7 separate regions of the Homo sapiens genome follow, and all the other regions are linked to region 5. Evidence: promoter capture Hi-C in 16 types of primary human blood cells and fetal thymus (Javierre and others, 2016). All regions are on one chromosome and are shown on one strand. Each heading gives the region's core, a stretch centred on a gene start or on the middle of the fragment in contact. The rest is flanking DNA. Distances are from core to core; before and after follow the strand shown.

Region 1 (2,782 bases), core at 27-2,526, 230 kb after region 5:
GTGGTACATGCCTGTGGTCTCAGCTACTCAGTAGGCTGAGGTGAGAGGATAGCTTGAGCCTGGGGGGTTGAGGCTGTAGTGAGCCATCATCATACCACTGATCTCCAGCCTGGATGACAGAGTGAGGTCGTCTCAAAAAAAAAAAGGGGGGTGGGGGGGTTTCATAGCCTAACACAGGGGTCTTTCTTTTCTATTACAAATGTCACAACAACTGTAATATCTAGTAAGCCACTGATTCACTCTAAATCTGTTACTGTCTATCTATTACCTTGGAGCAGTCACTTCATTTTTCTGAACCTCAACTTCCTCATCTGTAAAATGATAGAACTTTTTGTGATCTATAATCTGTACTGTCCTATATAGGAACCATGCCACATAGGATGACTAAACATTTGAAATGTGACTCATATAACTTAAGAATTTTTTTTTCTTTTCGTTTTTTAGACGGAGTCTCGCTCTGTCGCCCAGGCTAGAGTGCAGTGGCATGACCTCGGCTCGTTGCAACCTCTGCCTCCCAGGTTCAAGCAATTCTCCTGCCTCAGCCTCCTGAGTATCTGGGATTACAGGCGCCTGTCTCCACACCCGGCTAATTTTTTTGTATTTTTAGTAGAGACGGGGTTTCACCATGTTGGCCAGGCTGGTTTTGAACTCCTGACCTCAAGTGATCTGCCCGCTTTGGCCTCCCAAAGTGCTAGGATTACAGGCGTGAGCCACCGCGCCCAGCCAAGAATTTTTTATATTTAATTTAAATGGCTACATTTGGCTAGTGGTTATCCTACTGGACAGTGTGGGACTACAGGAACACTAAATATCCTTCTAATTCTAAAATTCGATCACTGCCAATTTCCAACATTTAAAAAAAATTCCTTTCTCCCTAAAATTGAGTAAATAAATGAATCTAATAATATATAACACAATCACGCAGGAAAAAAAGCATTCCAGTAATTGTTAAATATAATAGTATTAAAATTGACAAACATTTTCAGTAAGGAGCCAGGCAGAAAATATTTCAGGCTTTACAGGCCATTAAGATCTCTGGTATAACTACTTAATTCTACCTATGTAGCATGAAAGCAGCCATAAACAATATGTAAACGAATGAGTATGGCTGTATTCTAAATTCAGATATTGAAGTCTGAATTTCATGTAATTTTCATGGGTCATGAAATATTTTTTATTTTTTAAAAGAACTTAAAAACTTAAAAAGCATTCTTAGTTCACAGGCCATACTGAAAAGGTGGTGGTCAGATTTGACCCACAGGCCACAGTTTGCTAACCACAGCAGAATACACTGAAGATAAATCAAAAGAAATATAAAAAACTCCGAACTTTATAAAGTTTGTTGTTGACAGTGGTCTTGATGCAACATTCTGAAACTATTTTGTGTCTATTATAGGATTGAACAAATGAATAAATATTAATATTGTTGAGAACCAGGAGTCTGGCTACAGGACACAAGAGGTCAGATATGGCATCAGAGATGGTTGCAGTACTGGATGAGAATTAGAGGCATTGGTTAATCTCATTTTTAAAAAATTATCCACTAGAACCTAGAAGTCAAAATACTCCAATAACACTGAATATACTTAACCTACTATATACTATTCCTCACTAAAAGAAATTAGGACTCTGGAGAAAAAAGGCTGATTTCAGAGCTGGGGCAAGGAAAATACAAGGTGAGGCTAAATGTCTTGTACTGGTAAGTAAGGAAGTAAGCCCTCAAAATCTAACTGAGGACTAGTCAAAGAAAAAGAGAGGCAGTTTAAAGAAACTCCTATCAGGAAATATGAAACAACTTAAGTTCCAAAATAAATAATAGATTATAATACTCTGAATAAAAATCCATAAGTCCAGAGTGATGCTAATGTTTTTAAGTGAGGGAGAGGAATAACTTTTTAAAAATAATATCTAATGATAAATATAGAAGGAAGAACAGAAATAGAAAAATGCCATTTTACAGTTACTATAACTGATTCAGGCAAGACTTAACAAATGCTAAAATCACTGGGTGAGAGTTGTTGGGTAACAAGATACATAATCCAAAAGTATCACCCCATAAATTACTTATTAATTACAAAGGGGAAACGATATCTTTACAATGGAGAAATCTGTCATATCCCACCTTAACCAAATAATCAAATTTAACATCACCAAAACTGGTATCATAGACACCCTGATGTCATATACTGAGAACATAACACCTTATATAGTGTTCTTGCCAAAAATGTTTAACTTGAATCTAGTGATGAAATAAAACTAAAACAATGAGACAAATCCAAATTGAGGAACATTCTAAAAAACAATTTGCCTGGATTCTTCGAAAATGTGAGGAGTAGATGTAAAAGGATGGGGGAGCGTTGTAGATTTAAAAAGATAAAACAACCTACTGCAATGTGTAGCTCTTGATCCAATCATGGATTTGGCGGGGGGTTAGGGTAGAAAGTATAAGGGACTTGCTTGAACAATTGGAGAAATCTGGAATACAGACTGAGTTTTAGGTAATATTATTGTGTCAATGCTAAATTTCCTGAGTGTGATCATGCTACATAGAAGAATGTGTTTATTACCAAAAGATGCATGATTACATGCTGAAACATTTAGGTTAAGTGTTATGATCATGATATCTGCAATCCTCAAATAGTTCAGAAATTTTCAAAGTACATATAAAGAGAGAGCAAGAAAGCAAAGTATCAATTAATGAATCTATGCAAGATTATACAGATGTTCAATATACCATTCTTACTACTTTTCCATAGGCATGATATTATTCAAAATAAAAAGT
Region 2 (2,835 bases), core at 44-2,543, 200 kb after region 5:
AACGTTAATCAGCTGCACCAAAGTAAAAGTCAAGTCAAAAATTAGGGGTAAAAATCCTCATAGATTGAAGACATCAATCCATGTAGTACGGACACTATGCATTTTAAAGTATTTAATGCAAACATATTTAGTGAGTTGTTAATGCAAACATATTTGGTGAGATGAATTCTCATATCATGAATTCATTTAGTGACAATGAATTCACGGCATGAGAGGGACAATACACTCCATAGGTTGGCCACAGTAAATAAATGGTTATACCAAAGCCACAGTGAAAATAGGACTTGACATTGAAACAACACAAGCCAACACAAACCCAGTGATAACAGGCTTATCATTCCTATGTCCACAGCAGAGAAAAAGCAAGATCTAGTGAAGTTACATCAACTCCTTCATTACAAAAATTTCCCTCAGAAAATACAGAAACGGCTTTGATGAGATAACTACCAGATGAAACAAAGCAGGCTTTGGCAACATGAATATTTTACCTGTGGTGCAAAAATCTTTCATGAAAAGCAATGACTCCAATGCCTGGTAGTCTCCAAAGGAAACTGAGTAGTTCTCCTTCTTGGTGAACAGAGAAATGCTGGTGAACCTGGCAGCTGCCCACAAAGGATTTCTGAGACTTAATGGTACTAAGTGGACACAAGAAAACAAACACCAAAACTTTCAAACCCCCAATTAGTTTGCAGGCTGCCACATACCACTCCACAGGTTGTAAAGTACATAACTGGAGATCTATTCACATGGATTAAAAGATAAATAATCTACCTAAAAGTACAAAGCAACTCTTTTGGTTTGAATGGCTTGGGTTCAAATACCCAGAGGAATAAATATACCACATAACCAGCAATTTTTCATAAATATTGTTCCTCTTAAGTTTTTTGATGACCTGAGATAATGGTAGAGAAAGTTTCTAGCACCACAGAATGGTAAGCTTACTTACCATTCTAGGTAATATATCCAGGTCTATTGAAACTGCCAGCTAAATATATGTAATATATATTTTTAAAATATAAACATATAAAAGTACATTAATATATATGTCTTTCTAAAAGAGTAACTAGACAGCACATTGATTACTACACTGAAAAATACAGCATACTACTGTTAACTAAAGTGCTCAACAGAAAATTATGCTAGCTGAGAAACATACCAAACCTTTTTACAATATTTTGAAATACATTCAAAACTATAGTTAAAATGAAAACTAAATAGTAGCTAAATTTAAGCTAAGACAAAAGTTATTAAATTTATGCCTTTTCCAAAAAAGAATTCTAACACGTGAATAATAGGAAAAAAGGCTTATTTTCTTACATCAACTGTCTAATACATGAGAGTTTCTATTAAATAGAAATTTGTACGAAGTAGAATTCTCTTCACTTTATGTTATCTCTGTTTGGCAACCTATATTCCAACTATATATTAACAGATGATAGAATACAAAAGAAATCAAAAGTTTAGCTTTTTAGAAAAGCACACTAAATCCTAAATCTGTTGGGTATTTTAGATAATGTTGAAGGTATTTTTAATGATAATGATGTAATATTCACTACTCTGCAGCCCCTTTTTCAATGTGAAATAGCTTGGAATTTGAGATAAATTCATAATCCTGCTATATAGTAATACACAGAAAATTTTAAGCTTAAACTGGTAAATAAGAAAGATTCATTTTTTGTATTATTATACTTTAAGTTCTAGGGTACATGTGCACAACATGCAGGTTTGATACCTAGGTATACATGTGCCATGTTGGTTGGCTGCACCCATCAACTCATCATTTACATTGGGTATTTCTCCTAATGCTATCCCTCCCCCAGCCCCTAATCCCCCGACTGGCCCCGGTGTAAGATTCATATTTTATATTACTTAAAGATTTCAAAGTGTGGAAATACCCAAGTAATACAGCAGAAAACATCCTGAAAAATTTGGAAATACCAAAACATCCTGAAGAATAAGAATTCCAGTTTGAATACAGACTGCATATATTATTATTTTCATAAAGTTAAATTTAGGGATGTGGTAATTATGAGATTCTCGGAATACTGAAGTACTTACTTTCAAAAGGTTCAGGAAAAAAAAGTCATGTAGAGAGAAGGAAACATAAAGTAAATGTGCAAAATGTTAACACTGGGTCAATTTAGGTAAAGGGTATAAGGGTATTCATTATAATATTATTTCACCTTTTCCATATAGGTTGAAAAGTTTTTAAATAAAAAGGGAGAATACACTTTTATATGTATCAAGATATGTACAAGAATGTTCACAGCAGTATTATTTGTAAGAGCCCAAAGTGGAAACAAATCCAAATATATACCAACAATAAACTGGACAAGTAAATGGTAAATGAAAGGATAAGTAAACTATAGTATATTCATACAAAAGGGTACTACAGAGCAGTAACAATGAACTAACTACTGTTAACACACCACATGGGTAAAACTCACAAATAACGATGAGCAAACAAAGCTAGACACAAATAGGATGAACAAATATTTGTTAAATAAATATTTCAGACGATAGATAAGATCAGGGCTGTCATTTATTTTTGTTTGGCAAAAATTTTACTCACAGACAGTACAAGTAAAATTACCATGAATATGTATAAATTATTTAGAAGAACAAATTCTTTTCAGGCACCCTCAAGCACATTTATGAAAACCACACACATACTATGGATCTGCTCTACTAATCAAAATGCACACTGTTGGTTTCTCAACAACATCCAGTGAGCAACACTTTTTAAAAAGACCCAGTTTGAATGAGAGCATGCATCTAATACAATCCTGCACCAAAAAGACTTTTTTACTTGAATAAGACTTTTCAAACTGTACT
Region 3 (2,700 bases), core at 28-2,527, 180 kb after region 5:
GAGTATATATAAAAAACATGACCCAGATATATGTTGTCTCAAAGAAACTCAAAATATAATGATATAGGTAGATTGAAGGTAAATGATGAAAATGATTCACCATGCAAACATTAATCAAAAGAAAGATGTGCCTATAATATCAAATAAAATAGATTTCAGAGCTAAAGAGTTTAACAGGGACAAAGAATTATTATACAATGACCAAAGGGCCAATCCACCAATAAGACATAGCAATCCTAAATGTGTATGCACCAAAATAATATTTAAAAAGAATGTTGGAGAACTCACACTTCCTGATTTCAAAAGTTTCTACGAACCTATAAGACAACGTGGTGCTTCTATAAGGGTAGACATTGGAACAAAAAATAATAGAGAGTCCAAAAATAAACTATTCCATTTATTGTTGATTTGTAACAAGAATACCAAGACCACTCAAGTGAAAATGAATTATTGTAGGTGTCCCCAACCCCTAAGCCATAACCAGTATCAGTCCATGGCCTGCTAGGAACCAGGCCACAAAGCAGGAGGTGAGCGATGGGCGGGAGAGTATTGAGCTAGCAAGCATTACTGTCTAAGCTGCACCTCCTCAAATCAGTGATAGCATTAGATTCTCATAGGAACATGAACCCTATTGTGAACTGTGCATGAAAGGGATCTAGGTTGCAAACTCCTTATTAGAATCTAATGCCAGATCTCAGGTAGAACTGTTTCATCCCCAAACCACGCCCTACTGCCACCCCCCATCCATGGAAAAATTGTCTTCCTTGAAACCAGTCCCTGGTGCCAAAAAGTTTGGGTACTGCTGAATTATTGTATTAGTCTGTTCTCATATTGCTACAAAGAAATACCCAAGACTGGGTAATCTATAAAGAAAAGAAGTTTAATTGGCTCACAGTTCCACAGGCTGTACAGGAAGCATGATGCTGGCATCTGCTTGGCTTCTGGGGAGGCCTCAGGAAACTTACAATCATAGTGGAAGGCAAAGAGAGAGCAAGGTGTCTCATGTGGCAGAAGCAGGTGCAGGAGAGAGAGGGTGAGCCAGGCACGGTGGCTCATGCCTGTAGCACTTTGGGAGGCCAACGCAGGTGGCTCACTTGAGGTCAGGAGCTCGAGACCAGCTTGGCCAACATGGTGAAACCCCGTCTCTACTAAAAATAAAAAATTAGCGGGGCGTGGTGACGGGCGCCTATAATCTCAGCTACTCTGGAGGCTGAGGCAGGAGAACTGCTTGAACCTGGAAGGCTGAGGCTGCACTGAGCCAAGACCGCGCCACTGCACTCCAGCCTGGGTGACAGAGACTCGTCTCAAAAAATAGAGAGAGAGAGAGGGCAGAGGTGTTACACCAGGTATCATGAGAACTCACTATTGCGAGGACAATACCAAGAGAAATGGTGCTAAGCCATTCATGAGAAACCACCCTTATGATCCAATCACCTCCCACCAGGCCCCACCTCCAACACTGGGGATTACAATCTGACATGAGATTTGGGTGGGTACACAGATTCAAACCATATCAATTATCATTTCAACAAATGGTGCTGAGACAAAAAGATATCCACATACAAAAGAATAAATTGGACCCCTACCTCATACCATATAGAAAATTAACTCCAAATGAAGTTTGGACCTAAAATTAATAGCTAGAACTACAAAAGTCTTGGAGGAAAATATAGGAATACACACCTTTGTGACTATGGCCCATGAAACATTATTATGCAGTAAATGACTGCAGTCTCAAAAATAGTGTAACCTACAATGGTTACAATGTAACCACTTGACACCTACTAAGATAGCTATTAAAAAAAAAACCTGGAAAATAACAGTGTTGGTAATGATATGTATAAATAGGCACCCTGGTACATTGCTGGTGGGAATTTAAAATGGTGCAGACACCATGTAAAACAGCTTGGCAGTTTCTTAAAGGTTAAACACTGAATTATCACGTGATCCAGAAATGCTCCTCCTAGGTATAGACTCCAAAGAATTGAAAACAAAGACTTGAACAGATACTTGTATGCCAATGTTTGCAACATTAATCACATAAGTAAAAGGTAGAAACAACCCAAGTGCCTGTCAGCAGATGAATGAGTAAACAAAATGTGGTATACCCATACAATAAAACATTATTCTGGAATGAAAAAAAAGTGAAAGTTCTGATACATGCTACATGCTTCCTTGAAAACATTAAGCTAAGTGAAATAAGCCAAACACAATAAGACATATATTGTATGATTCTACTTATAACCAATATCTAGACTAGGTAAATTCATAGAGAAACAAAGATTCGAGGTTAACAGGAGCTGAGGGGAGAGAATCATGGGAACAACTGCCACATGGCTAGAGTTTCTGTTTGGCAAAATAAAAAGTTGGAAGTAGACATGAAAGGTTATACAACATTGTGAACTTAATTGATACCACTGAATTGTATATATAAAAATGGCTAAAGTGGTAAATTTCGTTATATGTATTTTACAACAATTTTTAAAAATTAATTCTGTGATACATAAAAACATTGAACCATACACTTTTAAAAGGTGAATCATCCACTTTAATGTGAATCACATCTCAATTAAACCGTTCAAAAAAAACACACAAAGTAAAAAGCTGACAGTCCTAAAAGAAGAAATGGACAAATCCCTCATAGTAGGAGATTTCAGCATGAGAAACAAAAATCACTGACAAACCACAGAAAGAGTGAGA
Region 4 (2,772 bases), core at 35-2,534, 160 kb after region 5:
AGAGGGCTCTCCCCATCCACCAGGAATGTCAGGTGATCAGGTGATGGTTCCACAATTATTGCATTGCCTCTCTAAAGATAATTCAGCAGCCGGAGGCAGGGACAGACAATCTCCTGATAATCTACAGCTGTTAACATTATAAAGTGTTAATTGAATGCAGGCCCCAGGGAGAAGTAAAAAGGGCATCCAATAAAATCTCAGGTGTTGGGTGAGGGAACCCAGGCATGTGCATTAAGAGACAAAATAGCAGAGCCTGGCTTTCCGAGGGCACACCACTGGAAAAGGGAAGAAAGCCTCAGATGGGCATGTATAAAACTTCCTAAATCCACTGCATGTGCTCACTTCCAAAGGGTAAGAAGGGCACTGTGCATATGGACAGCCCACCGTAAGGAAAGAATCATGGGGAAGGGTTCCAAGATGCCAGAAGTCCTATAAAGTCCTAGGATCACAGTTAAACGTGGCACTTGACCTTCTTGGTGCCCACTTGGGTCTCTTCCAAGTGCACTTTCCTTTCTTTCCTGTTCTAAAGCTTTTTAATAAACTTCCACTCCTGCTGAAACTTGCCTCAGTCTCTTTTTCTACCATATGACCCTCAGTGGAATTCTTTCTTATAAGGAGGCAAGAATTAAGGTTGCTGCAGACCTGTAAGGATTCACTGCCGGTAACTCGGGACACCTTCCACCGGTAACAACAGTTTCAAAGCAAACCTCCCCAAAAACAAATCTCCTGGGCCTGATTTCACTGGAGAAGTCTAAAAAATACAAATCATTTAGATGAGAATTAAGAATAATTCTACACAATCTTCCTCCAGAAAACAGTAGAGGATGGAACTTCCCAAATTGCTCTATGAAACCAGCATTGGCCTGATACTTAAACAGAAAAAGACAGTATAAAAGAGAAAACTACAGACTAATGTTTCTCATGAACACAGATGCAAAAATCCTCAAAAAATATTAATAGTAGCAAGGGAACTGAGCAATATCTCAAAAGGATTATACACATGACCAAATGGGGTTTTACCACAGATGCAAGGCTGGTTCAGTGCTTAAAAATCAATCAAGTAATAATGTACAGAAAGGAACTCTATGGATCTGCTCCTGAGCATAACAACTACTATTAGGGAAAATTATAAAACAAAAACAAAAAGCAAGAATTTAGTCTTGGAGAATTCACCTAAAAGAAAGTAACAAAGAAAACAGCATTTATTCCACAAAGTCTACTCAATCTCAGTAAAATCAGCAAGACCCTGTGGCACTTGAGCCACAACCCACTCCCTCCTTCTTCTGCCCTGGCCAATGTTCCACTCTGGGAAAATATGGCCAGGAAGATGCAAATCCCTTCTTCCCCAGATCCTAGTCAAGGGATATAGGAGAGGCAGACCACCAGCACTTCTCATGCTTCCCAGCAACATTATCACAATTTAAATTCCAGAATGGTATGTCAAAGAATCAAAAGCAACCTTCCTCCACCCAAAGCCTGCAGGGCAAGACTCTACCTCAGACACAGATGGTCCAGAATACTGAGCCCTAATCACCCTTGCCTCAGCTTACTCATAGGGCAGAAATTCCATGTAGGGAGAGGCAAATCAAGTAAAGGACACTGCCCCTACAAGAGCCCTGCTTGTAAGGCAGGAGTTTCACTCCAAGAGAAGCCGAACACTGTCCCCACCCCAGCTCCAGGGCAGTGGAGAAGCTGTGTTAAAGGGAGACAGGCCACAAGAACAGAAAACTTTAAAACTCTACCCAAAGAAACTGACTTTATTTGGTAGCGAGTATAGAGAAGTTCCAGTCTAAGAGTGCTCTTGAAAACAACATACGTCAGCTAGTTTACCAGAGATAACCAGGGAAATACGATAAGCAGGTAAGACAAATAAAGTAAGAACCCTCCTAGAGTCAGAACAAACATCAAAGATTGGCCTCAAGAACTATCCCTGCAAAGGGGCTTAGATTTAACTGGATCAAGACTGTGGAACAATTTATGCTCTATTTATATACTGATGAAAAAAATGTAGAAATTAGACAATAATTATTGAAGCTTAACAGCTGCATATGAAACTGACAGAGGTAGTTAACCTAACAGAAATCAGAGGAGTCAAACAGAGCCCTGATAAACCACTGTCATCCCAGGGTGACTGTGAGAATGCCTAATGCTGTGCGCACTGTGAGAAGATATCAGAGGCTAAAATAGTTCAATCAAATCACTGAAAAACAAGTAAACAATAACGACAAGCCTTGGAAGGGAGGGGTCAATATATTATCAATAGTTACAATACACAATCTAAAATGTCCGGTTTGCTTGGATGCGGTGGCTCACACCTCTAATCCCAACACTTTGGGATGGCTGAGGTGGGTGGATTGCTTGAGCCCAGGAGTTCGACATCAGCCTGGGCAACAAGGTGAAACCCCATCTCTGCAAAAACAGTACAAAATTAGCCAGATGTGTTTCTGTGTGCCTGTAATCCCAGCTACTCAGGAGGCTGAGGGGGAAGATCAACTGAGTCTGGGAGGTTGAGGCTGCAGTGAACCATGATCACAACCACTGCACTTCAGCCTGGGTGACAAAGCAACACCCTATCTCAAAAACATATAAAATAAAGTAAAACGTCAAGTTTAAACGAAAACATAACACAGGAGAAGAAACAGAAACATATAAGAGAAACAGAAGAAAAATAGCAGGTAACAGGAACTGCTCGTGAGAGGGCCTACATGTCAGACTGAACAATACTTCAAAGCAGTCATTATAAATATATCCACAGAACTAAAGGAGACCATG
Region 5 (2,703 bases), core at 144-2,643:
CACACACAAGGACAAAGACTTCGTCTGGCTTGTTCACTACTTTGGCCCAACAGCTGGCTTAACCCGCATCTCGCCTGACACACTAGAATGACACAGTGGAATTTTTGGATGGTAGGTTTATGTGGCTTCCAAAAAACAGTAGTTTCTACTCTAGTTCCTAACTAGAAGGATTTCCTTTAGAATCATAAAATGCAAATTTAAGCAATCCTATCAGAAGTTGGTTAAAAAAAGTACCCAAAACCCAAAAGTTAGTCATGAAATATGTATACTCTTACATGACTGGTGGCCACAATATGGTTGGTTAATTGCTTTTTGATAAAGCAATATAACATACAGCAAATGCCATTTAAGGTAACACTATATTTTGTCCCAGTATTCCCAATAAAGAAAATGCAAGCGAGTAATTCAACAGCAGTTACGCATATCGTTTTCGAATAATGTTAACCTATTTTCTAAAGCCTGCACAGCATATTACATGCACAAATAATCCAACAAGGTTAACTAGAGCTCAGCAACGGGTTATGTTAGAAACTGAGTTAATGCAGTTGTGGGTTACATTACAAATGTACACGGTTATGGGAATTTTCCCCGTAATTCTTTAAAAACTTTTAATATTAGTCTAAAATATTGCCAAACGTTTTAAGAGTTGGGTCTCGCTCTTAGGTAGAATTCGAGTAACCACAGACACAATTAACATTTACACACCAAAGAACCCATCATTAGCACGACAACCGTCCCGGGTGGGGGCGGGGCGGGACCTTCAGACCTCGTCTTTCATGGGAACACACCTGCCTCTCCTTTCCCAAGAGACTGAAGTTTTTCTCAAATACAGGTTAGCTCGAAAAGTCCACCAAGACAGTGACACAAACTCAGTTCGTTTTTCCCCTTCCCTTGCGACTTTTGTCTCTCCCGCTGGACGGCAGCCCAGCGGACCAGCGAGGGGTACCCGCGGCTCGGGGAGCGCGTCCGCTCGGCAAACATTAACCCGGCTGCCCCGGGCCCTCCGCCCCGGCCCGTCGCGCGGTATCGACCGAAACTCGGCGGCCCTGCCTCATTGGCCGCCGCCGCCCCTCCCTCCGGCGGGATTAATGCCCTGCCGGCCCGACGAGAGAGGGGCCGGCCGCCCTAGGGTCTGGGTGCGGCCCCCGCCCGCCTCCCCGGGGACAAGGCCGCTACCGCAGGCGCGGGCGAGGAAGGGTCCACTCGGCTAGGAGCGCAGCGGACTGTACTGCGGCGCCGCCGCCGGGCCTCGCGCTTACCTGAGCTGGGGACGGCGCAGCCCCGGCGACCAGAGCGGGGAAGAGCCGAGCAAGGCTGAGAAAGGGGCGGCTCCTCGGTAGACGCCGAGAAATGGCGCCCACAACGAGCCCACCGGCTCTAATCCCCGGAGGACCCCGACCTCCCGCCCGTCCACCCCTTAAAGCTCCCTCCCAGCTCCGCCCCCAGGGCGGAGCGCTCCGCTCTTAAACGGGCGATGACACCGCCCCGGAAATTGGCCGGCGCGGCGACTGGAGAGAAACCGGCGAGGCCGGGCCCGGCCGGGCTGGAACTAGCGCCAGCAGCCGGGCGTCCGCGGCTGGTTTAAAGGGGCGCTGCCGAAACCCAGTTCCCGCTGCGGCCCTCCGCCCGCGGAGGAGGCGCCCGTCCGCAGACAGACCCCAGTTAGTCCTATCACGAAGGAGGCTGGTGGAGCTGGCTGCTAGATTCATTCATCCATTCGTTCAAGAGATTAAATCCTTCGCAAATACTTATTGAGAGCCTGTCACGTATTTCCTCCCTTTTTCTCCTTTGTAGGGATTAAAATACATTTAAATCTCTGCTGTTAAAGTGACTTTCACTCTACTGGGGAAACAGTAAACAAATAGGTGTCACAAGGTGATTAAGTGTAAATGAGGAAAAATAAAACTGGGAAAGAGAAATAAAAGATTACTGCTTAGCAGAGTGTGGTCAGGAGGGTACTCTAACAAGGTGACATTCAGTCCGTTCATTCTACAGGTAATTGATTGAAGTGCCTACTTACTGTGAGTTCTGTGTTCTAGACACGAGATACGACAGACAACCAAGACAGACAAAAATCCTTCCCGGAGTTTACGTTATAGCAGGAATATAAACGAGACATAAAATAAACGAGATAAATTAGTGAAATTAAATACTGTCAGACATTGGTAAATGCTAAAAAGAAAAGTACAAGTAGGGAATAACCACAGGCAGTGAGGGTTTGCGATTTTACATAGCAGGTCACAATAAGAAGGTGGCATTTGGCTGGGCGCGGTGGCTCACTCCTGTAATCCCAACACTTTGGGAGGCCGAGGCGGGCGGATCACGAGGTCAGGAGATCGAGACCAGCCTGGCCAACACTGTGAAACTCCGTCTCCACTAAAAATACAAAAATTAGCTGAGCCTGGTGGCGTCCGACTGTAGTCCCAGCTACTCAGGAGGCTGAGGCAGGGGAATCGCTCGAACCCGGGAGGCGGAAGTTGCAGTGAGCCCAGATCACGCCACTGCACTCCAGCCTGGCGACAAAGCCAGACTCAGTCTCAAAAAAAAAAAAAAAGGTAGCATTTGAATGAAGACCTAGAGGAGGTGTGGGAGGAACCCTGTGGCCATCTGGGGAGAACCGAAGGGAACAGCAAGGGCAAAAGGCCCTGCAAGGGGACAGGTCTGTCTTTTCAAGGAAGTCCAGTGTGGCTAGAAGTGAGGAAG
Region 6 (2,736 bases), core at 45-2,544, 250 kb after region 5:
TAGACTGAAGCCCAGAACTAAACAACTTGCCCAATGCCATGCATAAACCAGTGGAAGATTAAATACTACAACTCAGATTTTCTAAGCAGTCAGACCTAAAGCTATGCTCTCCAATACTATAGCTACTAGCCACATCTGGCTATAAATTTAAATTGATTTAAATTAAATACAATTTTAAATTGAGTTTCTCAGACACACTCGTCACATTTTAAGTGCTCCATAGCCACACATGATTAATGGCTACCATAACTAACAGTGCAAAAAATATTTCTATGATATTTGTCAATTATACTTCAATAAAGTTGAAGGAAAAAAGAATATTTCCATCATTGCAGAAAGTTTAATTGGACAGAACCGATCTAAAGAATAAGTTTTAGAGAATTCCACTTACTAGAAGTATGAGCCTAGACAAGTTATTTCATTTCCCTTAGCTTCTATTTGGCAGGGAGAGGACAGGGGATTAATAATACCTACCTCATAAAGCATACTTGGTGAGTGGGACAACATGAAAAGCCCCTTATACAGGATCTGACACTTAACAGACAATAAATATTAACACTCTTCCCCTCTGGGTCCTTTTTTCTTTCTACTACTCTATATAACCTCCTTGTTAAAAAATACAAACACAATAACCAACCCAAATTGATATTTTCCTCATGATAGTCTATACGATGTAATTTTCATTTTGTTCTTACTAATTAATTCAAATACTTGCATCTCTCTTCCAAAGTTTCTACTTAAGAATAATGAAATGAAGAATGAATGTGAGGGAAGATATCTCTAATGAAATGAAAGAGTCTAATAAATTTCCCCTCCTCTTTTTCCCCATTCATGCAAAAGATAAGAAATTATGCTGTTCCTAGACAATGGTACTTTCATATCAATAAAGAAGATTCTACGGTATTTCTACATTATATCCTATCTCATCATCTATACTACTCATTAAATATTAAATGAAGAGATAACACCTCCTTCCTACAGTGCTTTCCTGGCAAACAATAAAAAGGATTTTCAGAATGCTAAGCCAAACTTCAAGGCTTCACAGCTTATTCTAGTAAACTGGCAAATTTAACAAATCTGGATTATAGTACATAAAAAACTTCATAACATGCAATAACCCAGGAAAACAACAAAATTCAACTCAGTTAGTAAACTTCTACCAATAACTAAATTTTACATAGGAGCAACAATTCATATTTAGCCACAATAACCATTCCTAGGGAGTTGATCAATTTTGCATTCTAACTAAGAATTTAGGCAAAACTTTAAAACATTTGCCCCTAAACATACACCAAACAAGATTTCCACGTTTCTGGAAAACTTTTCTTGTTTAAAAGTGGCCATATTAACTCTCAAGCGGGGGGCAGAAGTACTCTCAATAACAAACCTCCTTGCAATTTTCTGCTAGTCTCTTACTTTGCTCCTTAAAGACAACTTACTAAAAACCATGATCACTGATCCCGCTTTTAGAGTTTGTAAGTCATAAATAAATACTAAACAGATAACAATGGATACTGTACTGTACACCTCAATTATGTTTAACAGACAAAACTATTTTAAAAATACAAATCACAGTTTAATAACAACCTAACGAAGTCATACAAGTTAAAAAAAAAAGCTGAAAAGTTTTTATTACCATCTCACGTAAATTGTATTACTATCCCACTTTATTATACTTTTTTTTTAAAGTTAGGCATCTATGCTCAAACTGATTAAATCGAGTATGAGAGATCTATACTTTTTTTAAAAGTCCTTCAACAATAATGAAGTGTACACTGGTCACAGAATAGTTCAAATGAAATTTCCTGAGGCTGCATTCTAAGTACATCCGACCCAGAAAGTATTTTTAGCAAGTACGTTCAATCAATGCTGGTTTTATGCCTAGCCTAAATTAGAAATTGGGTGTTATAAATTTAAAGTAACAATGTTACTAGGGACATTTTAAAAGATATTTAATTAGAACATAAGAAAAAAACACAAGTTTGACTCAATTCAATACCTACAGCTCTGAAGCTAAGATGTTAGAAAATGGGCAGTAAGAAAAATCACATCCTCGTCTATTACTACTTTTGAGGAACTCGTGATTTTCTAACTTAATAAACATGGACCTACTCAATTAATATTTTTAAAAACTACAAAATAGTGGTGCCTCCTTGGATTTTAAAAACCTCTTGCCAAATTTTTAAAACAGACTGGCAACATGACAAACATTCCCATGTACAAAATAGACTGTTTCTCTTATAAATCACTGAAGATTATGATACTATGGGACCGTGCGTGTTTCAATGCAAAATGTAACAAAGATATGTGTACCATAAAAAATGCGAAGAGACATAAAAATTGCTTTTGTGGTAATTGGAGCATAAATTTATTCTAACAAAAAAACAGTGATGTCCACAAAATGATCACACTTACGAGCTAGTGAAGAGGTTCTGTAGAATACACAAACTTCTGCTTACGAGTTTTTTCTTTAAAAGAAAGCTGAATTTATATTAGTCAAATTCAAGATTTAGATGATATACCTAGCTCTATTCCATTAAGCACAGTTTAGGCTCTGAACAATCCTTTATTTTAAGGCCATCTCCTTCCCCCTTAAAATTGAAAAAAAATTTTTTTCCTCTGGCACGTTAAAGTTCAGAAAACCAAGATTTAAAAATGCCCTGGCTTTTACTGTTCCAGTCTTCTTTCTACTCTAATTGTCTTTTGCAAGTCGGACACATTGGCCTTTTATCTTTC
Region 7 (2,824 bases), core at 32-2,531, 140 kb after region 5:
TAACTTGGCAAAATTTATCAAATTATAAAATGCATATGCCAAGACTCAGCATTATTTTTATTATTTTTAGTGAGACATATTTCACGCACCACAAAATTTACCATTTTAACATGTATGTGTCATTATACTTTAGTATATTCCCTACGGTGTGCAACCATCATCACTATCTAATTCCAGAATATTTCCATCACCCTCAAAGGTAATCTTGTACCTATTCGCAGTCAGTCTCAATGTACCCTTCCCTGTTGCCCCTAACAATCACTAACCTACATTCTGTCTCTACAAATTTACCTGTTTTGAACATTTCGTAAGAATGGAATCATACAACAGGTTGCCTTTTGTGTTTGTCTGCTTTCACAGACAAGGTTTTCTTGGTTCATCTACATTGTGGCATGTAACAATAACTCATTCCTTTTTATGGCTGATACTGGGTTGTGTCTACTTTTCGACTATTATGAATAATACTGCTATGAACATTTGTGTACACATTTTTGTGTGAACACATGTCTTCAATTCTCTTGGGTACATGCCTAGGAGTAGTATTGTTGGGTCACAGGATAATTGTATATTTAACTTTTTGAGAAACTGCCAAACTTGTTTCCACAATGGCTGTACCTTTTACATCTCCAATATCAATGTATAAAGATTTCCATTTCTTCACTTCCTCATCAACACTATCTTTAAAAAATTATAGCCATCCCAATGAGTGTGCTGTGGTATGCCATTCCTTTTTATTGCTGAATATTTCATTGTATAGCTATACCATATTTGGTTTATCTAGTCATCACTTGATGGACATTTGGATTGTTCCCATATTTTAGTTATTATGAATAATGTTGCTATGAACATCTGTGTATAAATTTTTGTGTGGACATACATTTTCAAGTCTCTTCAATATATATCTGGGAGTGGAACTGCTTAAAGTAACTGTTTTAATACATCTTGAAATCACATATGATAAACCCTTAATTTTGTTCTTATATAAATGAGCATTGGGGTTATATCACTACCTATATTTAGTTACAGACTGCATTTTCTTTGCCAAGAACTGCTGTACTAGCTGGATTACTGTGCTACATCTGAGAAAAGCTGAACTGTCTGCAATACAATATATATGAATTTTAAATGTCATAATATTTTATTAGAAACTATAACTATCTAGTTAACACTGATAGCTAACAAGAGACGGTACTACATCATCAACCCCATTCATGAAGGAGTGTCTACTTAGGGATGGAGCTCTGTTTCTAATCTTTTCAAACCTTTCAAAGCGATTAGACATTGCTAATCGGTTACCTGATGACTCATGGTTTCTAATCTTTTCAAAGCCAATTTCCCATTCTTTTCCCTGGGAAGAATCTCTTGTTTACTCTATATACTGCTTCACATGACAAAGTTAATTTTTGTATCTGCCAAAACGTAGTAATAAAATTTCTACATTTGAGATCTGCATGGTTTCTACTAAGAAATCCACTGGTTATTTCATTGAGGTGCACTTCTATGTGACAAGTCACTTTTCTCTTTCTCTTGCTGCTTTCAAAACTCTTTCGACCATTTTCATTGTACTTGGAGTTCAGTGAGCTTCTTCTATTTGCATATCTGTATCTTTCTGCAAATTAGGGGAAAGATACATGGCAAGACCACGTCTCTACAAAAAAAACAACAACAACAACAAAAAAAAAAAACCCAGAAAAAATTAGCCAGATGTGGTAGTGCATGCCTATAGTCCTGGTTACTCGGGAGGCTAGGAGGTTGAGGTTCAGTCTGAGAGGCTGAGGCTGCTGTAAGCCATGATCGCACCACTGCACACTGCACTCCAGTCTGGGTGACAGAGCAAGACCTTGTTTCAATCAATCAATAAAGTAATTTAACTCCAAACTGTTCAGGGTTCCTATTGTAAATAGCCTTGGTCTTAAAGAAAATATAATTTGGACAAATTACAGCCATATATTTATTTCTTCATCTGTTTCAGTATCACTTTGGAGATTAAATTCTAGCTTATATTCTTTTCCACAGTATCAAGTTTTAGATGTATACTTTTTTCCCTTAACTCATTCATTATTTGAAGCCTATTTTCTATAAGGCACTGTGTCAGGTACTGGGGTGATATAAGTTCAAAACATGGTCCCTATCCTCAAAAACTGGTAAGTCATGAAACATATCACCTCAAGAAAGTATCATCACTGCTACAGATAAAAAAGAAAGAGGTAAACTGTACCTGGGGAGTAGTGGTAGTCAGGAAAGGCTTGAGAGGGAAAGTGACTTTTACTCTGAGTCTTAAAAAATGTGAAGGTAAGAGGGGTAGGGTAAAAGATGTGACGGGAGTGAAGGATGTGAGTTAAAGGTAAGATATTTCAGGAAGAGAAAGTATTTATGCCCAAGATAGCAAAGATCAAGTACTGCCTATTTCATCTGTAAAATATTCCATTTTCTATCCATTTTTAGAAATCTTTAGCTGTAATACCTGCCATTACTCATCTTAATGGTAGCTGTATACATTGTGATATTAACCTTTTGTTTCTCTTATAAATCAATCCTATTTCTTACTAGAAATTAAGTTAGAAACTTGGGAGGAAGAGCATCTCCCAAATAAAGTAATTCTGGAGAGTCACTAGATCCAGTAAAAAACATAGGGTTTAGTAAAACAGTAGAAAGAAAAGGTGTGGAAAACTTGGATTTGATCCCAACTTTACCTTTCACTACGCTAAATAAAATAAAATTAATAACAAAAACAATGGCTAAATAAAATTAAAACAAAATTTAATAAAATTAAAAACAATACTGGAGAACTAGTGGGGTTCAATAAATCCTCGTCTGAATATTT

What was found. Contacts are between HindIII fragments. The CHiCAGO score rates a contact against its expected background, and 5 or more counts as called.
Region 1: a contact is called between a fragment that was not itself captured here and the fragment with the promoter of EPB41L5 in region 5, in 3 of 17 cell types (total B cells, naive CD8 T cells and total CD8 T cells). The highest score is 6.6, in total B cells.
Region 2: a contact is called between a fragment that was not itself captured here and the fragment with the promoter of EPB41L5 in region 5, in 4 of 17 cell types (naive CD4 T cells, naive CD8 T cells, fetal thymus and 1 more). The highest score is 6.6, in naive CD4 T cells.
Region 3: a fragment that was not itself captured here is called in contact with the fragment with the promoter of EPB41L5 in region 5 in 3 of 17 cell types (total CD4 T cells, naive CD8 T cells and naive B cells); the score reaches 6.2 in total CD4 T cells.
Region 4: a fragment that was not itself captured here is called in contact with the fragment with the promoter of EPB41L5 in region 5 in 1 of 17 cell types (total CD8 T cells); the score reaches 6.9 in total CD8 T cells.
Region 6: a contact is called between a fragment that was not itself captured here and the fragment with the promoter of EPB41L5 in region 5, in 4 of 17 cell types (total B cells, naive B cells, fetal thymus and 1 more). The highest score is 9.0, in total B cells.
Region 7: a contact is called between a fragment that was not itself captured here and the fragment with the promoter of EPB41L5 in region 5, in 1 of 17 cell types (total CD8 T cells). The highest score is 5.3, in total CD8 T cells.

Annotation. Positions count from the first base shown.
Region 1 is chr2:119,780,078-119,782,859 of GRCh38, reverse strand. The region is part of intron 1 of PTPN4 (protein tyrosine phosphatase non-receptor type 4); the gene reads right to left. Among named protein-coding and RNA genes, the nearest start is that of PTPN4, 22 kb to the right of the region's middle. RefSeq lists an enhancer at 309-528. The HindIII fragment of the contact is 5,270 bases long and covers 1-2,782 here.
Region 2 is chr2:119,810,077-119,812,911 of GRCh38, reverse strand. The region is part of intron 2 of PTPN4 (protein tyrosine phosphatase non-receptor type 4); the gene reads right to left. Among named protein-coding and RNA genes, the nearest start is that of PTPN4, 52 kb to the right of the region's middle. The HindIII fragment of the contact is 707 bases long and covers 940-1,646 here.
Region 3 is chr2:119,829,098-119,831,797 of GRCh38, reverse strand. The region is part of intron 2 of PTPN4 (protein tyrosine phosphatase non-receptor type 4); the gene reads right to left. Among named protein-coding and RNA genes, the nearest start is that of PTPN4, 71 kb to the right of the region's middle. The HindIII fragment of the contact is 3,087 bases long and covers 1-2,700 here.
Region 4 is chr2:119,849,124-119,851,895 of GRCh38, reverse strand. All of the region lies in intron 2 of PTPN4 (protein tyrosine phosphatase non-receptor type 4), which reads right to left. Among named protein-coding and RNA genes, the nearest start is that of PTPN4, 91 kb to the right of the region's middle. The HindIII fragment of the contact is 1,505 bases long and covers 532-2,036 here.
Region 5 is chr2:120,011,767-120,014,469 of GRCh38, reverse strand. It overlaps EPB41L5 (erythrocyte membrane protein band 4.1 like 5), which reads right to left and starts at 1,393. Exons shown (of 25, transcript NM_020909.4): 1 at 1,260-1,393. It overlaps LOC107985817 (a long non-coding RNA gene), which reads right to left. Exons shown (of 4, transcript XR_001739205.2): 4 at 1,766-2,077. RefSeq lists a silencer at 1,048-1,217. The HindIII fragment of the contact is 11,072 bases long and covers 1-2,703 here.
Region 6 is chr2:119,761,223-119,763,958 of GRCh38, reverse strand. The region is part of intron 1 of PTPN4 (protein tyrosine phosphatase non-receptor type 4); the gene reads right to left. Among named protein-coding and RNA genes, the nearest start is that of PTPN4, 2.7 kb to the right of the region's middle. The HindIII fragment of the contact is 3,943 bases long and covers 1-2,736 here.
Region 7 is chr2:119,872,031-119,874,854 of GRCh38, reverse strand. All of the region lies in intron 3 of PTPN4 (protein tyrosine phosphatase non-receptor type 4), which reads right to left. Among named protein-coding and RNA genes, the nearest start is that of PTPN4, 110 kb to the right of the region's middle. The HindIII fragment of the contact is 3,701 bases long and covers 1-2,824 here.